Regions from separate parts of the Homo sapiens genome. Here region 1 is linked to region 2. The links are contacts of gene promoters, found by promoter capture Hi-C in blood cells and fetal thymus (Javierre and others, 2016). All regions are on one chromosome and are shown on one strand. The core of a region is centred on a gene start or on the middle of the fragment in contact, and the rest is flanking DNA. Distances in the headings are between cores, read along the strand shown. Region 1 overlaps DNAH9 (dynein axonemal heavy chain 9). Region 2 holds the start of MYH3 (myosin heavy chain 3).

The links. The method cuts DNA at HindIII sites, captures the fragments that hold promoters and counts their contacts. A CHiCAGO score of 5 or more calls a contact.
Region 1: a fragment that was not itself captured here is called in contact with the fragment with the promoter of MYH3 in region 2 in 1 of 17 cell types (endothelial precursors); the score reaches 5.6 in endothelial precursors.

What each region holds. Positions count from the first base shown.
Region 1 is chr17:11,957,942-11,963,583 of GRCh38, reverse strand. It overlaps DNAH9 (dynein axonemal heavy chain 9), which reads right to left. Exons shown (of 69, transcript NM_001372.4): 68 at 1,328-1,717. It overlaps LOC124903928 (a long non-coding RNA gene), which reads left to right and starts at 3,370. Exons shown (of 2, transcript XR_007065622.1): 1 at 3,370-3,453; 2 at 4,855-5,642. The HindIII fragment of the contact is 740 bases long and covers 1,324-2,063 here.
Region 2 is chr17:10,655,677-10,661,027 of GRCh38, reverse strand. It overlaps MYH3 (myosin heavy chain 3), which reads left to right and starts at 3,719. Exons shown (of 41, transcript NM_002470.4): 1 at 3,719-3,739; 2 at 4,880-4,938. The HindIII fragment of the contact is 3,770 bases long and covers 1,224-4,993 here.

The sequences.
Region 1 (5,642 bases), core at 444-2,943, 1.3 Mb before region 2:
ATGGATCCCTTCATCTAGTTAGTGAGCATAGTACCGGATAGTTAGTTTTTATTAACCCCCACCTCTCCCTACACCCTCTAATAATCCAGTGTCTATTGTTCCCATATCTGTGCCCATCTATGTGGTCGTTGTCTTCTTTTTTTTTTTTTGAGACGGAGTTTTGCTCTTGTTGCCCAGGCTGGAATGCAATGGTGCGATCTCGGCTCACTGCAACCTCCACCTCCCGGGTTCAAGCGATTCTCCTGCTTCAGCATTCCGAGTAGCTGGGATAACAGGCATGCACCACCATGCCCGGCTAATTTTGTATTTTTAGTAGAGATGGGGTTTCTCCATGTTGGTCAGGCTGGTCTCAAACTCCTGACCTCAGGTGATCTGCCCGCCTCGGCCTCCCAAAGTGCTGGGATTACAGGTGTGAGCCACTGTGCCCGACCTGTGTGTCTTCTTATAAGGGCACTGGTCATTGGATTTAGGGTTCATGATAATCCAGTATGACCTCATCATAACTAATTACATCTGCAAAGACCTTATTTCTAAATAATCATTCTGGGGTTATGCCTAGACATGAATTTTTGGGGGCACTACTTAACCAAGTAAATCTCTATTTGCATATTCTTATTGGTGACAAAACATCTTCTCCAATCTCATGTGACTCACGTTTTTATTAGCCTTTGATAAGGAATCCTTTCAAAATGCCACTTTAAGTGATATCTACTGGCTCCTCTTTGCCAACATAGGACAACATAAAAGGCAGAAGATTCCTGCCCTTTGAGAGCTCATGAATGTGGAAAGTGGACCAAGGAGGTGAGGCAGGAGAATTGCTTGAACTCGGGAGGCGGAGGTTGCAGTGAGCTAAGATCGTGCCACTGTACTCCAGCCTGGGCGACAGACACACAGCAGCAGCAGCAGAGATAGCTGACTCCAACATTTTTTGATAACTGCCTATGTGCCAGGCACTGTTCAAGTGTCTTACATATTAGCTCGTTTAACTTTTACAATGACGCTCTTCTCCCATCTAACAGGTGAGGTCTGGAAAGGTGAAACTATATCTAAAGTTACAGAGTTAATAAATGGTGGTGCTGGGATTCAGACCCAGCCAGTCTGGTTCCAAAGCCCTTGCTATTAACCTCTCCACTCTACTGCCTCTGCAAAACTTACGCTCTTTGCACCACCCCTGGCTAAATAAAAATGGCCTGATGGCCTCAAGGAAAGAAGGTTAGCTAGAGAAAAAGATTCAGGAATATCTCTTTTAGTAGTCACACTTCATAGGAAGCAATGTGTATTTAATCAGCCCCCAGAAAGCTGCCCTTTGGTTCATTCCAAGCTTTACCTGTGTGTCCCAGCAGGCACCTTCCATGAAGAGGCCATGGATGTAGGCCCCTTCCCGAGGAGGACTCCTAAACTCTTCTCTGTTCTTCTTCGTCATGTCACATTGCAGGGCCATCTGGTCCAGTGGCCACTCATTCTTGCGAGCCGTGGACTGCATGATGGCAGTCAGGAACGACTGGGGGTTGAAGAAGCCTGTCAGCCACACAGTGGAGGGCATTGTAAAGTCACCCGTCCAAGCCTCTAGCTCCTTGATTCTGTTGAGGAGGTCTGGAAACCAGGCTGCCAGGCCTGCTGTGGAAGGGTAGGCTCGTCTAGCCCAGGACTCTGGCACCATATCGAAGTACAGGGCATTCTGTAAGTTCTCCATGTGGCTGGTCATAGTCAGCTCCCCCTGAAGATAAAGAATGGGAGGGGGAAAGCGTGAGAAGGTGGGAAGTCCCTGAAAACACCTGGCCTCAGAGACCCCTGGCTCATGGCACCCAGGCAGACAAGAGTTATCCATCCTTGTTCATGTCATTTGAACATAAAACTCCAGGGGTAGGTGACACAATGACTGTCCTGTCTAGTACTTGCTTTGGAAGGTTTGTCTCACAGAAGCTGGTCCTTGAAAACCCTCCCTGCTCTGATGTCAGAGTCTCAACTGTTCTACTCACAGTGTTTCAAAAGACACAATTGCTTCCCATTGCAGACCTTAAACCACTTGTGGGTTCAGTGCCACATGACCTTAGCCTAAAGCTTAAATTCCATGACTCTCCTGCATGCAGCTTAGAAACCCAAGAAGCCAGCGCCTACAAAGATCTATATTCCCCCAAATCAGGGATTTCTTTCAGAAATCGAGCTATTGGATATGTAATCAACTTTAAGGGACACTCTTTCAACAGCTAGATAGGATTTGTAAAGAAAGGTTTACACTGAACACCATCTTTATTTTTTTTTATTTTTGGAGACGGAGTCTCACTCTATTGCCCAGGCTGGAGTGCAGTGGTGCAATCTCTGCTCACTGCAACCTCCGCCTCCCAGGTTCAAGTGATTCTTCTGCCTCAGTCTCTTGAGTAGCTGGGATTACAGGCACCTGCCACCACACCCGGCTAATTTTTGTATTTTCAGTAGAGACAGGGTTTCACCATGTTGGTCTGGCTGGTCTTGAACTCCTGACCTCAAGTGATCAGCCCACCTCAGCCTCCCAAAGTGCTGGGATTACAGGCATGAGCCACCGCGCCCGGCCTGAACACTATGTTTAAAGCAAACTTTGTAACTTTGGCTCTGCCAATGATCTGTGGCAATTTCTTGAAGACCCCATTTCTATTGTTGTGGTTTCTGTAATAGGTGTTAGGGCACCTGACAGCGTTTGGCTGTCTCATCAAGGGCAGACTGCTAAAATGTAAGATGTTCTCACCTCCGTAGGGCCTGGAGTCTCCTGGCCTGTGGGACAGGAGACTGGCACATGGAATTCTAGATCTAACTTTTTCTCTTAACTTTTGGAATTCTTTTTTTTTCTGGAGACGGTGTCTTGCTCTGTCACCCAGGCGGGAGTGCAGGGGCGCAATCTCTGCTCACTGCAACCTCCGCCTCCCGGGTTCAAGCGATTCTTCTGCCTCAGCTTCCTGAGTAGCTGGGATTACAGGCATCTGTCACTATGCCCAGCTAATTTTGTATTTTTAGTAGAGATGGGGTTTCACCATGTTGGCCAGGCTGGTCTCGAACTCCTGACCCTGACCTCAGGTGATCTGCCCACCTCAATCTCCAGAATTGATGGGATTACAGGCATGAGCCTCCGCACCCAGCCACTTTTGGATTTTTTTTTTTTTTTTTTTTTTTTTTTAAGACAGAGTCTTGCTCTGTCACCCAGGCTGGAGTGCAGTAGCACGATCTCAGCTCACGGCAACCTCTGCCTCCCGAGCTCAAGGAATTCTCCTGCCTCAGCCTCCCAAGTAGCTGGGATTACAGGCGCCCACCACCACACCCGACTAATTTTTGTATTTTTAGTAGAGACGGGGTTTCACCATGTTGGCCATGCTGGTCTCAAATTCCTGACCTCAGGTGATCCACCCGCCTTGGCCTCCCAAAATGCTGGGATTACAGGCGTGAGCCACTGCACCTGGCCCACTTTTGGAATTCTTAAAAACAGTTAAGCATACCTACCTTAAGATGAACATATTTCAGTCTCCTGAGTGACAGCCAGAGGCTCCTGATTTATAAGAAATAAACTGGTAACTTCTTTATGAACTTCCTACATGAAGTATAATTATTACGAATTCACTTTCTAGACTGTAGTGTCTGGTGGCCGGACTATTTTAAGACATAAAAACCTCAATGTTTTAAAGAAAAGACCAATATCCCTAATCAGACCAGCAACAGATGGACCAGCCTGAATGAGTACAGTGTGAATTACAAACATTTTCCCCCAAGTAACAGGACTTTATTACAGGGATAGAAAATAGATTTCATTCCACGTATTTATCCAGATGTTTTGAGGTGAATGACCAGAGCAGGGTGTTGTGATGAATCTGAGGCCACATCAAGGCTCCATGGGATGTAAAAGAGCCCTGTATGTGCCACCAACATTTATCACTTTCAACCAAACCCGAATTTGATGAGCAAGTTTTTTCTGGTAGATTTCCCTAAGGATCTGCTGAAATGAATATCATTATTAGGTTAAAATAGAAAAAAACTGTTTCCTTTGTTTGGAATCTCTGCTTTAGTGTACACAGGCTTCTGAGAAATGGGTTTAATATGCTGCTTATATCTCTGAGCCCAAATCAAGCTTCTGAGACAATACGGTCTTCCTCATATCTGTAGTTATGTGATAATTCATTGCTACATGCAATGTATAGCTTATGTAATAATTGTTTCCCTTTAAATAGCTGATTATTTAATAAAATAACATTAAGTATAAAGATGAAATTTAGTGCAAAGGACAAAATAAATGATCAAAGAAGATCATTCACTTTGTTTTATGAGACCCCATCTGTGTAGCCATGTCTTCCCTTACCACGTTATGAAGGACATTCATGGCAATGATGAACAAAAGTGATGAGGATGGAAAACCTTGCCTTGTTCCCAAACTTAGAGAGAAAGCAGGCAGTCCCTCACAATTAAATATGTTTTCTTTGGATATCCTTTAAGTTGACATTTCCTTTGATTTCTGTTTTTTTTTTGATATTTTAAAATGAAGATTTGGTGTTCAATTTTGTCAAACGCCTTCTCTGCATTTATGAAGATGATCATATGATTTTTAAATGTAGCACATTAATATGGTAAACTTCACTGACTGATTTTTGAATCTTAAAACTAATCTTGTATTCCTAGGATTACCGCATTTAGCCATGATATATTATCTTATTCTTATATTGTGTGATTTGATTTGTTAACATTTTGCTAAGGAATTTTGCATTTGTGTTTATGAGGAAAGCTGATCTGTCATTTGCTCATAACGTATTTGGTGTCACGTTAATTCTGTTTTCATAAAATTTGTTGAGAAGTTTTCTCTATGCCTTTTCTTAATATACTTTATTTTTTTTTTTTTAGGGCAGTTTTAGTTTCACAGCAAATTGAGCAGCAAGTACAGAGATTACCCTTATATCTTCTGCCTCGACACATGCACAACCTCCACCACTATCAACATTCCCCACCAGAGCGGTACCTTTGTTACAAGTGATGCACCTGCATTCACCTCATTATCACTCAGAGTCCGTAGTTTACCGTAGGGTTTGCCCTTTGCGTTGTACATTCTATGTGTTTGGACAAATTTATAATGACATGTATCTACCATTACAGTATCATATTGTATCATTACAGTTTAATGCCACGTATCCACCATTTTAGTATATGTCATTGCAGTATAATTGTATGTATCCACCGTTACAGTATTGTACAAATACAGTATCATGTTGTATCATTATAGTATATGACAAGTATCCACCATTATAGTATCATATTCATCATTATTGTTTCAGTGTCCTAAAATTTTTCTGTGCTTGACCTACTCATGCCATCCTCACTCTTAACTCTGGGCAACCAGTGTTTTTACTGCCTCCATTGTTTTCCATTTTTCAGAATGTCACATAGTTAGAATAATACAGTATGTAGCCTTTTCATATTGACATCTTTCACTTAGTAGTATGTGTTTAAGTTCCCTCTGTTTCTTTTCATGGCTTGATAGCTGATTTTTTAAAAAGCATTGAATAATAATCCACTGTCTGGATGTACTGCAGTTTATCCATTTACCTACTGAAGTACATCTTGGTTTCTTCCAAGTTTTGGCAGTTACGAATAATGCTGTTATAAACATCTGCAGGTTTTGTATGGTGATTTAA
Region 2 (5,351 bases), core at 2,470-4,969:
TCCAGCCTGGGCAACAAGAGTGAAACTCTGTCTCAAAAAAAAAAATAAGGAGTCTCACTCTGTTGCCCAGGCTGGAGTGCAGTGGCACAATATCGGCTTACTGCAATGTCTGCCTCCTGGGTTCAAGCAATTCTCCTGCCTCAGCCTCTCGAATAGCTGGGATTACAGGCACCCACCACCACACTCAGGTAATTTTTGTATTTTTTTTTAGTAGAGACAGGGTTTTACCATGTTAGCTAGGCTGGTCTCAAACTCCTGACCTCAAGTGATCCACCCGCCTTGGCCTCCCAAAGTGCTGGGATTATAGGCATGAGCCACCATGCCCGGCTGGATAGAATTTTTTTTTTTTCCGAGTCAGAGTCTCACTCTGTCGCCCAGCCTGGAGTGCAGTGGCATGATCTCGGCTCACTGCAAGCGCCGCCTCCCAGGTTCACACCATTCTCTTGCCTCAGCCTCCCAAGTAGCTGGGAATACAGGGACCTGCCACCATGCCAGGCTAATTTTTTTTGTATTTTTAGTAGAGACGGGGTTTCACTGTGTTAGCCAGGATGGTATCGATCTCCTGACCTCATGATCCGCCCGCCTCGGCCTCCCAAAGTGCTGGGATTACAGGCGTGAGCCACCGCGCCCGGCCAGAAACTATTTTTTAATATTACATATGTCTCTTTCTCCCTCCCCATCTCAATAAGACATATATTCAGTGTAATTTACTCAGGGTTCTCATTAAGAAAACCAGTCACACTGTGCCATAATCTGCAGGTAGAGAAGAAAACTTACACCTGGCAAACACCTGCAATGTACCAAACACAGCACGAGGCATGGTGTGTGCGATGTTGGGATATCCCGCTGAATGCACATAACTAGTCTGGGAGGCAGGTATGTCACCCCCGTTTTACAGAGGAGAAGACGAAGGCTCAAAGAAGCACACTGCCTGCCATCACGTGGTGTGCAAGCGGGCAAGCCGGGATCCACATCCAGGCCTGTAGGACTCTCAGCTCCATGCTCCTCCTGCTCCGACCTGCTGCTGTGGAAGTACATGCAGTTCTCACCTCTCCTAAAGATACGTTTCCAAATGACCAGACTTTGTGATTCCTGATATCCAGCTTTTCAACTGCTCTCCAGACTGCCGTGGGTGCTGTCCCTTCCAGCCACTGCGGGATTTCTCCTGGAGAGCTGACCTCTATCCCTGACGCTGGCCCTCTTCTCACCGCTTCCAGCAAGCTTCCTGTGGCTCCTGCCTTCGGTTTCCTCATCTGAAAAGGAGACAGTTCAGCCAAAGAGATGGTTCAGCAGGGTGTTCTTTCTCCCTCATTTGAACGCGATCAGCATGGGTGCCTTTCTGGTCCACTCAACACCTTTGATCTTGTACCACACAGTTCATCTGGGGGAACGTGTCTTCCTCTTCTCAGCCCTACAGACGAATGCCTCTTTGAAGGCAGGGACCAGGCCATCTCCATGTGGAGCACTCTGGAAGTTCTGGGTTCTGTGCCTGACACATAAAAAGTGTCCAGTGATGTCTATATTACTGAAAAATAAATACGTAAGATAGGAGGAATGATCCAGACTAAAAGAAACTGCCAAGATCTCACAGCTGAACACTCTAGGAGTCTGTGACGTTTTCTCCTAGATTCACTTATATTTGTTTGCTGAAGATGAAGAATTCTGATGAAGAGAAGGAAGGAAACAAGGACAGTGTGGAAAGCCAGGCGAGAAGCCATCAGCATTTTAGAGCTTGTATTAGGTCCTAACGTGATATGGGTGCTCTCTTAAGGGAACTAAAAGAAATGTTGAAGGGAATATTTCTTTTCTGTCTCCTGGAGGTGAGTATGGATGTAGTTATATAGATAGATGAGTACATTGGTCACTGCAAAAGGGAAAAAGCAAAATTGCCCCCTATTTCATTTCCACACAGTTCCTCCTGTCAACAGGTCTGGGTGTTGACGTAGGAACTGCAAGTTCCCACGTCCACCCCCGCCACACCCACAGCCTGCCCTGCATACACCACTGCTGGAGATGTAGCCAGGACAGCTTGCCCTGTCCCCTGACCCCACGGACCTTGTTAACACCGCTGCTCCCCTCGGTGATATTTACCTGTCCGTGGCTGTCCTGACCAATACTCCCAAGGAGACAGTGCATCACTGGGCCAACAGGGCAGAGCCCCAGGGGACCACTCCCTTTACGACATGGACGGACACTTTAGGAGTGACGGTTACCCTCTCCTTGGATGAGGAGGGGCTCCAAGGATGGACATGTCAGTCTCACCTGGAGGGAGAGGGGCAGTGGGTGGGGGCAACGCTCAGTGGCTGGTGGACAGGCAAGGGGTGAGTGAGCCCTGCCCAACTGACTCCATTGGCGGCCACTGGCCTTGCCTGGCATTCACGGAACAGGCGCTTCATAAACTTGTTGCTTCAATGTGAAATCACCTCAATTTTGTAAATGCGTCTGTAGCATCCACAGGACTCATCATCTAGAATTCAAACCCTTAAGGGTAAAGGCTGCGTCTTCTGTTTCCTCTGCGTCTTCTCGAAGCACTGTGTGTAAGGGCCAGAGCACAGAGGATGTTTCATACACGTGCCTTTGCCCTGAGACCGCAGCCCTGCCTCCCCGGTCCCACGCAGACCTCATGGAGTGGCCTCCACTTCGGGGCTTGGTACTGCTGTGTACGGAAGGGGCGGTTTCTATGGGAAACATGGACAAACAGTTCTATTTGGAATAAGCAACCACAGGGTGCCCACCCAGCCATCCTCCCAAAGATTTGTCAAGAAAAAAAAAGTAGAACGAGAATGGGCAAAAGCGTCCGACATACTTTACTCTTCTCTTGAGGCTTTATTTTTCCACTCCTGATTTAGAGATGACCACATTTGTTAGACAGCCCCCCCTTGTCCGCCCTTTCTCTGCAGGCCACCACCGTTCCCCCTACCCCATCCCAGCCAGCAGCTGGTCTTTCCTAATTGGTAATCTGTCTTAATAGCCACAGGTCCTCAGGCAGCTGTCGCCGGGAATACGAGCTGGCAGCATAGATCCACGTCACTAACTTAACTGGCTGGTCCTATTAGAGCTTAAGAAAGAATTAAGTTAATAATGATACTAATGAGACAGAACGTTGCATAGGAGAAAATAAGAGAAAGAAGGAGAGGAGTAGAAGGAGGAGAAGGGAGAAGAGGGCAAGGGGGGAGGGGAATTATTGCTATTAATTATTATTATTATTAATTATTCCTGGCACAGGTTTTGCAATCACAACCCAAGGTTGTGATAAAATCTTGCTCAAAATTCAAAAAGGATTTCAACTTTTCACTCTCAGTCTTATTCACTTTTCCATATGATGAGATTTCTAAGTAAGCCACCCGACTTCAGTCCTTGGTGCCCAATAGCTAGGGGCTCACGCCGCGTTCAGGGTGTGATGAGCGCCTGAGAACGGAGGTGGCTGCCCCCGCAACTCCTCCTGGAGTGAGGCCATCCCATCCCATCAGGGGAGGGAGCACCGGCCCCAAGTTCAGAGAAAGGCATCCCAAGCTCCTGACATTCTGCGGTCGGAAAATGGTGATGGATCCTGCTCATTTCTAATTATACCTTTCCCTTGGCAACGACAAAGATACGTGTGGAAGAAGCTGGTTCTCGGCTTGGGGGGGCCACTCATCCTCTTGCCAAATATAGAGAAGGAATGAGCCGCGGGGGTTACCAATGGCCTATAAAAGCCCCGGGGAGCAGCCAGCCCTCTGTGGCTCGCTTGTGGGCGGAGGTAAGTCACAGGCTCCTCTTCTAGGTCTCAGCTGCTTGGAGCACACCCACCCGGTGAGCACATCCACACCCCGTGCGTGGTTCCCTGGCCCTGCCTGGCTCTGCTGAGGTGGCGCCTCATGCCTTTCTGAGTTTTCTTAGGATAAGCAAGGTGTAGAGAGCGAGGTTCCCTGGGCCCAAACACCCAGCACCCTCTGGCTCCAGCACCTCCCCCAAGCAGGAGCCCTGCAGGTTCTCTCTCCTCCACACACTCTCCCCTGTCCTCCTCTCCAAGTGTCCTCTTGGGCAGGATCCTTTTGGATGCCCCGTGAGCCCAGCTGCCATGGCTTGACCTTCTCCCATTGCCTCTGTGACCCATGAAGGGTCAACAGGACTGGGGACCTCACTCTGCCCTCACCTTCCCCACCTGGGCTGTACATCTGCCAGGTGTCTTGTCCTCTCAAGACCACACTGGCTGTGGGCATTGCGTGTAAATTAATCTCAGAGATATTGCCTGTTCACAGACAAGGAGACCTGCCCCTGCCCTCGAACTGTTGACTTTAAGCAGGGATGCGGTCCCTGCTGTCCGATTCTAAATGGGAGTGAGGAAGACTGAAGAAGGTGCCAGTGCAGGCTGAGAGAAACCAGATTTCTGCACAGCTGAGGGTTTTTCCTCCCTGCCTGGCTTCCTGTGGGTCACGTCCCATCTGCTCTTCCATCTTCCAGCCTGCCTCTTTAAAGTATTAGTCTTTTTTTTTTTTTTTTTTTTTTTTGAGACAGAATTTTGCTCTTGTCGCCCAGGCTGGAGTGCAATGGCACAATCTCGGCTCACTGCAACCTCTGTCTCCCAGGTTCAAATGATTCTCCTGCCTAAGCCTCCAGAGTAGCTGGGATCACAGGCATCTGCCGCCACGCCCAGCAATTTTTTAAATTTATTTTTTATTTTTAGTAGAGAAGGGGTTTCACTATGTTGGCCAGACTGGTCTCAAACTCCTGACCTCAGGCCATCTTTCCGCCTCGGCTTCCCAAAGTGCTGGGATTACAGGCGTGAGCCATGGCGCCTGGCCCCTTTATCCTTTTTAGTTAACTCGTCAGAAGCCGATTCTACATGGACGCAGCCACCCCAAGTGCCGCTAAGTTGTGTATGTGCATATTCTTCCAGGTCTGGGATCTCCTGGCTGTTGCTGTCTTCTGCTCTCATCCTGCAGGTGGGACTCTCAGGTGAGAAGTTGGGCCCTGTCCCTCGGCTGTTGGAGATCTCCAGGCAATCCAAGCTTGCCAGTTCCTTTCTCCCTCCTCCCACCGGCCATAAGGGCACAGAGGGACAGGGGAACTAGCACATTTAGACAAGGACAGGTCGTGGCCGGGTGCAATGGCTCACACCTGTAATCCCAGCACTTTGAGAGGCCGAGGTGGGCAGATCATGAGGTCAGGAGTTCAAGACCAGCCTGACCAACATGGTGAAACCCCGTCTCTACTAAAAATAGAAAAATTAGCAGGACGTGGTGGCAAGTGCCTGTAATCCCAGCTACTCAAGAGACTGAGGCAGGAGTATCGCTTGAACCTGGGAGGCAGAAGTTGCAGTTAGTGGAGATCGTGCCACTGCACTCCAGTCTGTGACAGAGTGAGACTCC